4 separate regions of the Homo sapiens genome follow, and all the other regions are linked to region 1. Evidence: promoter capture Hi-C in 16 types of primary human blood cells and fetal thymus (Javierre and others, 2016). All regions are on one chromosome and are shown on one strand. The core of a region is centred on a gene start or on the middle of the fragment in contact, and the rest is flanking DNA. Distances in the headings are between cores, read along the strand shown.

Region 1 (2,614 bases), core at 40-2,539:
TTTTCTCTTGGCAGCCTGGATTCTGAGCATGCAACATTCGACTCTAACAAGGCTGACTCTGGTTCAACCAGGCTGTGTGGATGAAATCTACGACCTCCCCAAGCATTTGAAGTTCATGTTTTCTTTTTCTTTTGAGATGGAATCTTGCTCTGTTGCCCAGGCTGGAGTGCAGTGGCGCGATCTCGGCTCACCACAACCTCCGCCTCCCGGGTTCAAGCGATTCTCCTGCCTCAACCTCCCAAGTAGCTGGGATTACAGGTCTGCGCCACTGCGCCGGGACTAATTTTTGTATTTTTTAGCAGAGACTGGGTTTCGCCATGTTGGCCAGGCTGGTCTTGAACCCCTGACCTCAGATGATCCGCCCGCCTCGGCCTCGCAAAGTGCTGGGATTACGGGCGTGAGCCACCGCGCCTGGCCTGAAGTTCTTTTCTACAGAACTTTGCTGTCCTATATACATGAGGGTACACAGCCAACTGGGCACCTGGCACGGGTCTAGTCCAAATTGAGATGGGCTGTTAACTCTAAAACACACACTGGATTTCCAAGACTTAGAACCAACGACAGAGCGTAAAAGATCTAATTAATTCTTTTAGACTGATTACATGCTGAAATGACAGGATGGGCTAAATTAAACACATTAAAAGCAGTTTCACCGATTTCTCTTTACTCTTTAAAAATGTGGCTGCTATTAGAATTACCTACGTGGCTTGGACTGTGTGTCTACAGGGAGCTCCTCTCGCGCACTCTGTGCACTCAAATTCCGCCGGTGTCCTCCGCCGGAAGGGCCGCCTCAGAAAGGCCGAGCCCCCGGCCTGGCTTCTCCGGTTTCCCGGGAAAGCGTTGCAACCACGGGCGAGGGCTCCGAGGTCGGCCCCGAGGGGTAAGGGCAGCCCTTGCCTTCGCGACATCCATTCACCCGGCTCCGCAGGTGCAGCGCGCGGTCCTCAGAGAAACCCCGACCCTCGCGTCGCTGACCCGACCATTCATTAATCGGGGGCTTCCCAGGGCCCAGGAGCAGCCTCGGGCGCCCCACTCCCCCATTCTCGCGTAGCCGTCCCCTTGACCGCGTCACACCGAGCGGCACAACCACCAGGGAAGGTAACTGGGAGGGCGCGACCTCCCTCAATCAACAGCCACCTCGGGCTGACTGAGCGGACCCAGGTCCCTTTCAGCCACAGCGTTCCCTCGGCTTCCTGGGCCTCACGGCGGCGGAGGCGTGGCCACAGCCTGAGAGGCGGGTTTCCTGTCCAGTTGTGAATAACTTCCGACGTGTGCCGGAAGTTTCCTCAGTGACAATCAGGAAGTCGGCGTGTCGAGTGGCTCTTCCTGGCTGCTGAGGCGGGTTAAGGTCTGAGGGTCTTGTGGGGCCACGGCGCTGATCACCAGGTGTTTGGCTTGGTCGGTTCTTATTTCTCGCCTGGCAATGGCGACGTACACCTGCATAACTTGCCGGGTGGCGTTCCGCGACGCGGACATGCAGCGGGCCCACTATAAGACGGACTGGCACCGCTACAACCTGCGGCGGAAGGTGGCCAGCATGGCCCCAGTGACCGCCGAGGGCTTCCAGGAGCGAGTGCGGGCGCAGCGGGCCGTCGCGGAGGAGGAGAGCAAGGGCTCGGCCACCTACTGCACCGTTTGCAGTAAGAAGTTTGCCTCTTTCAACGCCTACGAGAACCACCTCAAGTCCCGGCGTCACGTTGAGCTGGAGAAGAAGGCCGTGCAGGCAGTGAATCGGAAAGTGGAGATGATGAATGAAAAGAACTTGGAGAAAGGACTGGGCGTGGACAGTGTGGACAAGGATGCCATGAACGCGGCCATCCAGCAGGCCATCAAGGCCCAGCCGTCCATGTCTCCCAAGAAGGCGCCCCCAGCGCCTGCAAAGGAGGCCAGGAATGTCGTGGCCGTGGGTACTGGTGGCCGTGGGACCCACGACCGAGACCCGAGTGAGAAACCACCCCGGCTCCAGTGGTTTGAACAGCAGGCGAAGAAGTTGGCAAAGCAGCAGGAGGAGGACAGCGAGGAGGAGGAAGAGGACCTGGATGGAGACGGTGATGGCCCTGTCTGGGCGGGGAGGGTAAAGAGGAACTTGGCCCACCCTTAAGTTTCCAGATTTATACTCGAGATGGGTGTGTGTGTGTGTTTGAGAGCTTTTAAGTAAAAATGATGAGGGAAGGTGGTTTAGACGCTTTCTGAAGTGCCTTATCTGGCCAGCAGGTTTGGCTGTTTAGTTCACTCAATTCATTCTCCAAGGCCTAAAACCTTGTCTGGAAAAAGAAGTGCTTAATGCATATTTGGAGAATGAATTGATGCCTTCTGTGTTTTGGATGAAGAGGCTTTTAACATATGCACAGGAGGACATGCTATCGTCATACCAGCTGCCGTGTAATTTGCGATTCTAGTGGGTTTCCAGTTATGATGGTTTTGCACTTAATTTAGTTGAGTAAAACAGAATGAGGGGATCAAAACCAACTCAGCCAGAAATTTGGAGCTGGAGCCAGCACCCTCACCTCTTTGCCTTTATGAGCTATTTATTCCTTACTTCCCTCATCCCACATCCTATTAACAGTGCTGGTGTAGGTGTTCATGTCTTAGTCTGTCCACTCTGCTATAAGGA
Region 2 (2,614 bases), core at 30-2,529, 6.2 Mb after region 1:
CGTAAAGAAAGAGAACCAAGTGCTTTGTGTTATCTCACTGAATTTTCAACACATTAATGAGACAGATTCTTTTACCAGCCCATTTACAGCTGAGAAGAGGGACAGTATGACTATGACCTTACAGGCGTTGCAAGACCACTGTGCAACACAGTCCTCCCTGAGCATCCATGGGGAATTGGTTCCAGGAGCCACAGTTCTCCCTGAGCATCCATGGGGAACAGGTTCCAGGAGCCCCCGAGGATACCCAAATTCACAGATGCTCAAGTCCCTTGCATCTAGGCTTGTACATCTGCGGGTTCCCCATCTGCAGACAAGGAGGGGCCTGTACTCATGAGAAACAGTCCAACTGTAAACATACAACACCTTACTGTCACACTATGATTTACTGCAGAATTGTAATCTTTTGAGCTGGATGCAGTACTAGAGCCTGCAACCCCCCCTACTTGGGAGGCTGAGGCAGGAGGATTGCTTGAGGCCAGGAGTTTGAGATCAGCCTGGGAAACATGGCGAGACCCCATTACAAAATAAAAAGAAAAACTGCTCTTGCTTTAAAAATCTTCCTCCACCCACCTGAAATCCCAATAATTATATTTATAGATCAAAGTTACTGACTGGCCTTTTTTTTTTTGAGACAGTCTTGCTGTGTCTCAAAAAGGCTGGAGTGCAGTGGCATGATCTCAGCTCACTGCAACCTCCGCCTCCCGGGTTTAAGCGATCCTCCTGCCTCAGCCCCCCAGTAGCTGGGATTACAGGCACGCGCCATGACGCCCTGCTCATTTTTTTTTGTATTTTCAGTAGAGATAGGGTTTTGCCATGTTGGCCAGGCTGGTCTTTAACTCCTGACCTCAGGTGATCCACCTGCCTTGGCTGCCCAAAGTGCCAGGATTACAGGTTTGAGCAACCACGCCCGGCTGAAACTGGCCCTCTTAAGGAAGGTAAGTAGCTGTCAAAGTGATAATAAAAAAGTTACCTGTTTTTTTTTTCACATTTAGCTACCAAATTGAGTAATAGAATTATTATTATTATTATTTTTAAGGAGAAAGCAAGAGGCAGAAAGAAAAGGATGTAAAGAATTTGGCAAATAGGAGAGATCCCGAAATCCCGAGATCTATTTTGCCCTACTGCTCGGCAACGTGGAAAAAACCTTTTTCTTCCTTCTGCTAGTTCTGTGTGTTTCCAGAGGGAAGAGTATCAAACATCAAGGCATAATACATATTATGGATAAAACAGAATTATGCTGGCTGGCCTGGAAACTTAGCCTGCTCTGTTTTAGGTTACAGGATTTTAGAATATGATTCCTTCCTAAGCCAACTAATGCCTGCACCTTTTTTTTTTTTTTTTTGAGACGGAGTCTCACTCTGTCACCCAGGCTGGAGTGCAGTGGCGTGATCTCGGCTCACCGCAACCTCTGCCTCCCAGGTTCCAGCGATTCTCCTGCCTCAGCCTCCCAAAGTTCTGGGATTACAGGCGTGAGCCACCGCGCCCAGTCAATGCCTGCATTTTTAAGGTGAAATATTATACAGTTAAGTGTTAAACAAGTGAAGAATCTCAACAAAATACATATTACCTTTAAGGCTCTAAATGACCAGAGAGAAAGAACTGTGACCATTACCATTAAAACGTTCACGTCCTGGCCTATACATTTCTTTTACCGTTGCCTTCAATTTCCATATATTTTGGTTCTTCAAGTTAGCTGGACGTTCTATGAGGTCAGGGAGCAAGTGTATATCCCTAAACTGCTGAGCCTCAACACTCACAGGATGCCTACCAACAGCATCCAACTCTTTTAAGAGACTTAAACACCCAGGTTACTGTCCAAATGAGCTCCCACAGCAAAGAATGATCCGACCTCGAATGTCAATATGCCAAACTTGAGAATGCTGCTCTAGACCACTGGCTTTGACTCTGACAGCGGTGGCCCTGACCATGGTAATGCTCTTTAGTAGCAACTGCTCTTCAGAACAATTTCTCAACTGCTCTGGGCCCAAGTCCCCAGTTTTGTAAAATAACCCTGTCTCAGAGTGTGCGACTTCTGGGCACAAATGCATGCAGTTTGAACAAAATGGCTGATGCAAAACAACCTAGTTTTAGTTATGTTGTTACACCAGGTGTGTGTATTGGATGTTATTTTCTCTGCAGGTCCCTGTTAAGTGGAAAATAAAATGGAATACATAATACAATTAGCTTGAAACTTTTTCTTTCTAGAAAGGAAACAAATACTGAGTGCCTACCGTGGATCAACCACTGTGCAGCCCCTCTAAGTCACTCCATTTAATATCACTGTCAAGTCTTCAGCTTGACGGAGGCCTATCACCTCCCCCTGGAAAAGGAGGTTCCGCGAGGTTGTGTAACTAGCACTAAGTCAAACAAAGAGTCCATAGGGGAACTGTATTGTTTCTAACTTTGCGTAAGTAAACCTCCAAGACACTAAGTGAACAGGGACACCTGAGAGACCTAGTGGAATGGTCTATTATGAATTCACTTTATAACAAACCCTGAAGGCCCTCTCGGAGTGTCCCTTCCTCTGCATTTTCTGTCAACGTCTGGTGCTCAGATGTTTCTTACCTGCACCCCTGCCCTGGTTTCTTTAACCCCTCTGGTCTTCCTTATTCCC
Region 3 (2,614 bases), core at 82-2,581, 6.1 Mb after region 1:
TACGAAGATGGAACGCGAATGTACATCAAGTGCCACATGTTATAGTTGAGGTATTTATTAAAGGCAAGACTTCTTTAAAAAAAAATAAGTCGTTATCAACTCATTACATAGATAATATCAAACTTTTTTCACTCATTATTGCACTCCATGACGGCGTTTGATAATTCATTTTCGTTTAAAATCGCCAAAATCGCAACCCATAAGGTTGAAAGACGCTCATACCCCCATAAATATACCTAAAGTAGAAAAGCATTTGCACGATAACCGGAACATCAAAAAAAGCAAAATTTAGTAATTTCCTCTATAAACTCACCACTCATTTAAAAACACAGCTGGTTAAAAATAATCTACTACCTTCAGTGGGTAAGAAAATGCGTTTGAAGAGACATAAGGTGTGGACGTTTATATCTTAAGTATTCATTTTACAAGGGTCAGTTTGTTCAATGTAACCGTATCCAAAACACAAGCAATCGCAAAACAAAACAAACAGAACCCTGCTTATAGGTGTCAAGGATTTAAAACCAAATGGATCGCAACAAAAGAGCCTCCCCGTTTAGTAAACAGATTCTCGAGCGGCAGGCAAGCCGAGGACCAGGCTTTTCAACAGGGGTCAGCTCACTCCACTCGGCCGTCATCTGGCGGGGTATTTTTCGCGAAGTTTCAAAGTCAACAAAGAAGTTCTGTCGCGAGGGGGTAGGGCCTGGCGAGCAATAGGCAGAAGGACGTAAAGAAAGACAAAACCCAGTGGGGGAAGGGTGCGGAAAACGCCCCCGGACGGCAGCGACAGAGGCCCCCTTTTCTGGGCCAGCGCGCGACGGCGGGGACAAGGGAGGCCACGCCGGCCTGCAGTAGCCCCGAGGCCCCGACCCCGGCCCCGGCCCCTGCCCGGCAGGGTCCCCGCCCCCCTCGGCGGCGCGGGCGGGAAACGGCGGGGGGCGCGCAGAGGGTCACCTTCCGCTCCCCGGCCCAGAGGCCCAGCGGGTGGACAAACGGCCCAGGCGTCCGCCCCGCCGCGATCCAGCAGCCCACCTCGAGCGCCGCGGACCTGGCCGGGGTACGAACCCGGGCGCCGACGCAAGGGCTCGGGCGCCGCGCGTCGCCGACTTACCTTCCTCCGCGGTGTCCATCTTGTCTGGGGGGGCGGCGGTGACGCAGCCACGAGGCTCCCGCGGCCGGGCGGGGAAAGAGGGAGGGGAGAGGAGGAGGGAGCCGGGCCCGGGCAGGTGCGTACGCTCAGGTGCGAGAGAGGAAGCGAGAGGAAGGAGAGGGGAGAGGGAGAGGGAGAGAGGCTGACAGAAAGCGAGCGACACGGGAGGGGGAGGGGCGGGAACACCTAGGGGCGAGGCCTGGGCGGGGCGCCGAGGCGGAAGGGGCGGGAGCTCCCCAACGACAGGCGCTGTCACTTCCGGCGGCCGCGGCGTGCACTGTCGGTCGGCGGCTAAGGAGGGGAGGCACCTGCATCTGGGGCGCGGCGAATCCTCGCGTGCGCCAGGCCGCCTGGGGTAGTCGCCGAGACTGCGCCGGCCAGCGGGGCCGAAACCTAATCAGGAGCTGAGCTTTGATGGCGGCTTCTGGAGGGACAAAGAAGGCGCAGAGCGGTGGGAGGAGGCTGCGAGAACCTAGCTCCCGCCCCAGCCGACGTGCGAGACAAAGGCCCCGGCGCGGGGCTCTTCGGAAGGCCGGGAGGTTCCTGTGACAATGCGAGTCTGCGCCCCACGCTCCCGCACCGTGATGCCGAGGCCAAATGGCTAGAGTGGGCCCAGGCATCAGCATTTCTGTTTGGCAGCCGGGCAGTTGTGGTGCACGTTTTGAGGAACTACTAAAGCCTGCCTGTGATGAAAAAGGCAAAAGCTGACTTCACCAAAATTACTCCCAGGGAGACTTCTGCATTTGGCTGGAAGGACATTTGAGTAAACCGCTGAGGCTGGTGGTTGAAACATAATCCTCTAAGGGAGATCGGTTCCGATACCCTGAGTTAGGGACGCTTGCCTGGGCAGAGCTAAGGGGAGAATGATCAAAAGCCAAGCTCTGTCCCCGTCAGCACGTCACCCTCCCTCACTGTAATCCCTGACTGTTTTCTCTAAATGAAGAATTATTTAGAGAATATAAATTAGAAGGGCCGCCACGTCAGAATTGCCTGAGTGGGAGCAGTCTTTCCAGCCTCGAAAAATGTTTAAACAATATGCAGATGACCTAGCACAAATAAAGAATGCTAGCAACCGCTGTTATGTGTGAGCGGTGGAATTGGGAGGGCTCTTCCCCCAATCTTCATCAAACAGAGTAAGGTTTAGAATAAAAATAATGAAATACAGTCTTTCAAAAAGAGCAGCGCTTGACTAATGTTACTGATGTCACTCATGTTACTCAAGGGAGGAAAGAACTCAAACTCTACATAATAATACCCACTGATTTCAAGGGCTGGCACGGAGAATTAAGCAGACCGCCATTCTTTATATTTGTTTTTTTGTTGTTGTTTGCTTATGATTTTTTTCTTTCTTTTTTTTTTTTTTTTTTTGAGAAGGGGTCTCGCACTGTCACCCAGGCAGGAATGCAGTGGCGCGATAATGGCTCACTGCAATCTCACTATATTGACCAGTATGATTTTCAACTCCTG
Region 4 (2,614 bases), core at 31-2,530, 5.7 Mb after region 1:
CCAGGTTTATTTCTCTCCTGGGTGGGGTCTTCTTAACAAAGAGCAATTCAGAGGCCCAGACACCCCTTGCTGTATAACACTAGCTTTTCATTGTGTGGCTGCTGCTGAGGGGACAAGTGTAGGTCGCCGTGCTGGGGTCCGTATGGTGTGGCCCACAAGTGGTATGCATCATCACATCAGTTTCCTATGGCTGCTGTACCAAATCACAATAAACTTAGTGGTTCTAAACAACACAGTTTTATTATGTTACAGTTCTAGAGGTGAGAAGTCCAAGATGGGTCTCACTGGGCTAAAATCAAAGTATCCACAGGGCAACTGGTTCCTTCTGGAGGATCGGGGAGAATCCCATTTTCTTGCCTTTTCCAGCTTCTAGAGGCTGCCCACTTTCCTTGGCTCGTGGCGCCTTCCTCCACAAGCCAAGGAAAGCTTCTTCAAAGGCAGCAATGACCAGTCACATCCTCACATCACACACTCAGAGCCCTGACTCTTCCGCCTCCCTCTTTCACATTCAGAGACCCTTGAGATTACATGGGCCCACCTGGGTAATCCAGAATAATCTCCTCACCTTCAGTCTATGATTCTAAGCACAGAATAGCAGTTTCCCTTCTTCTTCCTCAGCTTACAGTCAGCTGATGAGCAACCTTAATTCCATCTACAACCCTCATTTCCCCTGGCCGTGTAGCCCAGCACACTCACAGGTTCCAGAGTGGGGGGACGTGATGACATGATGCTGCCCACCAAAGTCACTTTTCCCCATACTATTGGGCAGGACCCAGTTTGATGCCCCCAATCCAACTACGGGGAAGCTGGGAGTGAGACTGGCAAACACCTGACTAGTCCTAGCCTCAACCAATTCCCAATGACAGCTTTTCCAAAGCACTTCCAGGCAGCCGATCCTACTTTCCCCTAAACTTTTTGAATCAGCCTCCCTGCACTCAAGGATATACATGTAGCTGCTCCATGTACCTCCCAGCTTGAAAGGGGCCCAGTCAGATGTCCGGCAAGGTGCCCATCCTGGCCCAGTCAGTACTCATTTTGTCCTTTGGGTCAGAAACTATGTCAAGGATGGAACACACACTGCTGTGGAAGATGGAGTGTTTGGCCCAGGGGGGTCCCACTATGTCTCTGAACTTCATTCTTTAACAGGGTTGCTCCGTGTAATTTAAGAGCCTTCTCACCTTCACAGTCTATGATTCTGAGCACAGAATAGCAGTATGAAGCCAACGAGAGTGCAAATTCAGGAAAGTATCTGGGGCTCCAGCTCATTTTTTAGCACAAACCATTACTTCTACCTTATCTATGCACACCTGAAAGCTCCTGTAAGGGCTCCACTTGGTCTGGGGGCAAGGTTCTCATTGGGGTCTTCTATAACTTATGTCTGTTATTGGGCCAGACTGTCAGTACCCACTCTCTGCATACGTTCTTACCGCCTCTCACCCCTTTATCCTCTCCACTTTTTAGGGTTCCCACCTTCAGGTGCATGGGCTTCCATAGATGTGAGTCTCCACTTGCCAGTGATTCTCCTCTCTCCTGGTGGAGTCATTTTTCTTAACTAAGATAGGCCATAGTCCCTTGCCCTGTTCGCATTGGGAAGTTCTACCCACCTAATCTCACCAGCCCCTTTGCTTACCTGCCACTACATTGCTCTACCTGAGATCCTTTGGTTTAATCATAACCTGCAGCACTGGTTGTTTTCTGTTTTGTTTTGTTCCTTCCACTGGAACAGTCCTCAGAACCTTTCGTCACTTCTTTTAGGTAGAAGAGCTTCCCTTTGAATAACATTTCCATAGCTCTTCTCAGGCAAGAACAAAGGTAGCATATACTTGTGAGTCATACTCCAGTACCTGCAGTGGATGCTTTTGGGACATTTGTGTGAGTTAACAGCCCTTCCTAGCTCCCTGCTGGAAATTGCTCCCTGGTTCATGGAACTCTTCCAGTATTTCCCCTTTCTTCTTCCCGCAGTAGCATTTTCTAGTTTGCTATTTGGCACTAGCAGATAGCAAGCCACCAGTGACTGCATCTTACAGCCAGGCATCCTGACACCTGAGGACGGATGCTTGGCCCAGGGTCCCACATAGTCATTTGCCTCCTTGGTGTTTGCTTACCTCCCAGATGTGACCGTAGGTAAAGCTTCCTCCACTCCCCTTCCCACTTGGGCAGGCAGCTGCTCTGTGGAGAGCTTTTCATTTCAAACTCACCTTCCCTTATCTAGGTAGTGTAATAACCTGGCCCTGTCTGTAGGCCGTTCCTTTGAGTTACTCTCAGAAGCCATGGTGCTCTGCTTCCTGGAAGGAATCTGATCAAGGAAAGGCTTACCTACGATTAAGGGTGGAACCCAGTTTGCCGCTTGCCAGCTGTGCGATTTGGGGCCGCTGGCTTCCCCTTCTCCCTGCCTCAGGATCTACTCCGTGGGGCTGCTGTGCAGTGAAAGATGCGTGGACTCCAAGTGGTTAGAGCGGTGCCTGCCACAGAGTGGTGATGAGGAGCAGAAGTTGGATCTGTGATTCTCCCAAAGCTTCCTCAGGTGGTGATGTAATGACGGAGGTCCTGGTGGTGGTCAGCACCACGATGGGCAGGTGCTTTACAGGGCATGGCCTTCATTCCCCAGCAACCC

What was found. The method cuts DNA at HindIII sites, captures the fragments that hold promoters and counts their contacts. A CHiCAGO score of 5 or more calls a contact.
Region 2: a contact is called between a fragment that was not itself captured here and the fragment with the promoter of ZNF622 in region 1, in 3 of 17 cell types (total CD4 T cells, activated CD4 T cells and non-activated CD4 T cells). The highest score is 12.4, in total CD4 T cells.
Region 3: the fragment with the promoter of MARCHF6 here is called in contact with the fragment with the promoter of ZNF622 in region 1 in 4 of 17 cell types (naive CD8 T cells, total CD8 T cells, activated CD4 T cells and 1 more); the score reaches 7.9 in naive CD8 T cells.
Region 4: a fragment that was not itself captured here is called in contact with the fragment with the promoter of ZNF622 in region 1 in 1 of 17 cell types (activated CD4 T cells); the score reaches 5.3 in activated CD4 T cells.

The regions. Positions count from the first base shown.
Region 1 is chr5:16,464,475-16,467,088 of GRCh38, reverse strand. It overlaps ZNF622 (zinc finger protein 622), which reads left to right and starts at 1,289. Exons shown (of 6, transcript NM_033414.3): 1 at 1,289-2,048. The coding sequence starts at 1,424. RefSeq lists a silencer at 1-104 and an enhancer at 1,912-1,981. The HindIII fragment of the contact is 4,211 bases long and covers 1-2,614 here.
Region 2 is chr5:10,251,343-10,253,956 of GRCh38, reverse strand. All of the region lies in intron 1 of CCT5 (chaperonin containing TCP1 subunit 5), which reads right to left. Among named protein-coding and RNA genes, the nearest start is that of CCT5, 2.4 kb to the right of the region's middle. RefSeq lists a silencer at 2,527-2,614. The HindIII fragment of the contact is 2,706 bases long and covers 1-2,614 here.
Region 3 is chr5:10,352,412-10,355,025 of GRCh38, reverse strand. It overlaps MARCHF6 (membrane associated ring-CH-type finger 6), which reads right to left and starts at 1,331. Exons shown (of 26, transcript NM_005885.4): 1 at 1,109-1,331. The coding sequence starts at 1,127. It overlaps MARCHF6-DT (MARCHF6 divergent transcript), which reads left to right and starts at 969. Exons shown (of 3, transcript NR_183261.1): 1 at 969-1,054. RefSeq lists enhancers at 95-666, 1,513-1,772 and silencers at 723-1,192, 1,233-1,372. The HindIII fragment of the contact is 4,878 bases long and covers 1-2,614 here.
Region 4 is chr5:10,753,014-10,755,627 of GRCh38, reverse strand. The region is part of intron 1 of DAP (death associated protein); the gene reads left to right. Among named protein-coding and RNA genes, the nearest start is that of DAP-DT, 6.7 kb to the left of the region's middle. The HindIII fragment of the contact is 1,704 bases long and covers 429-2,132 here.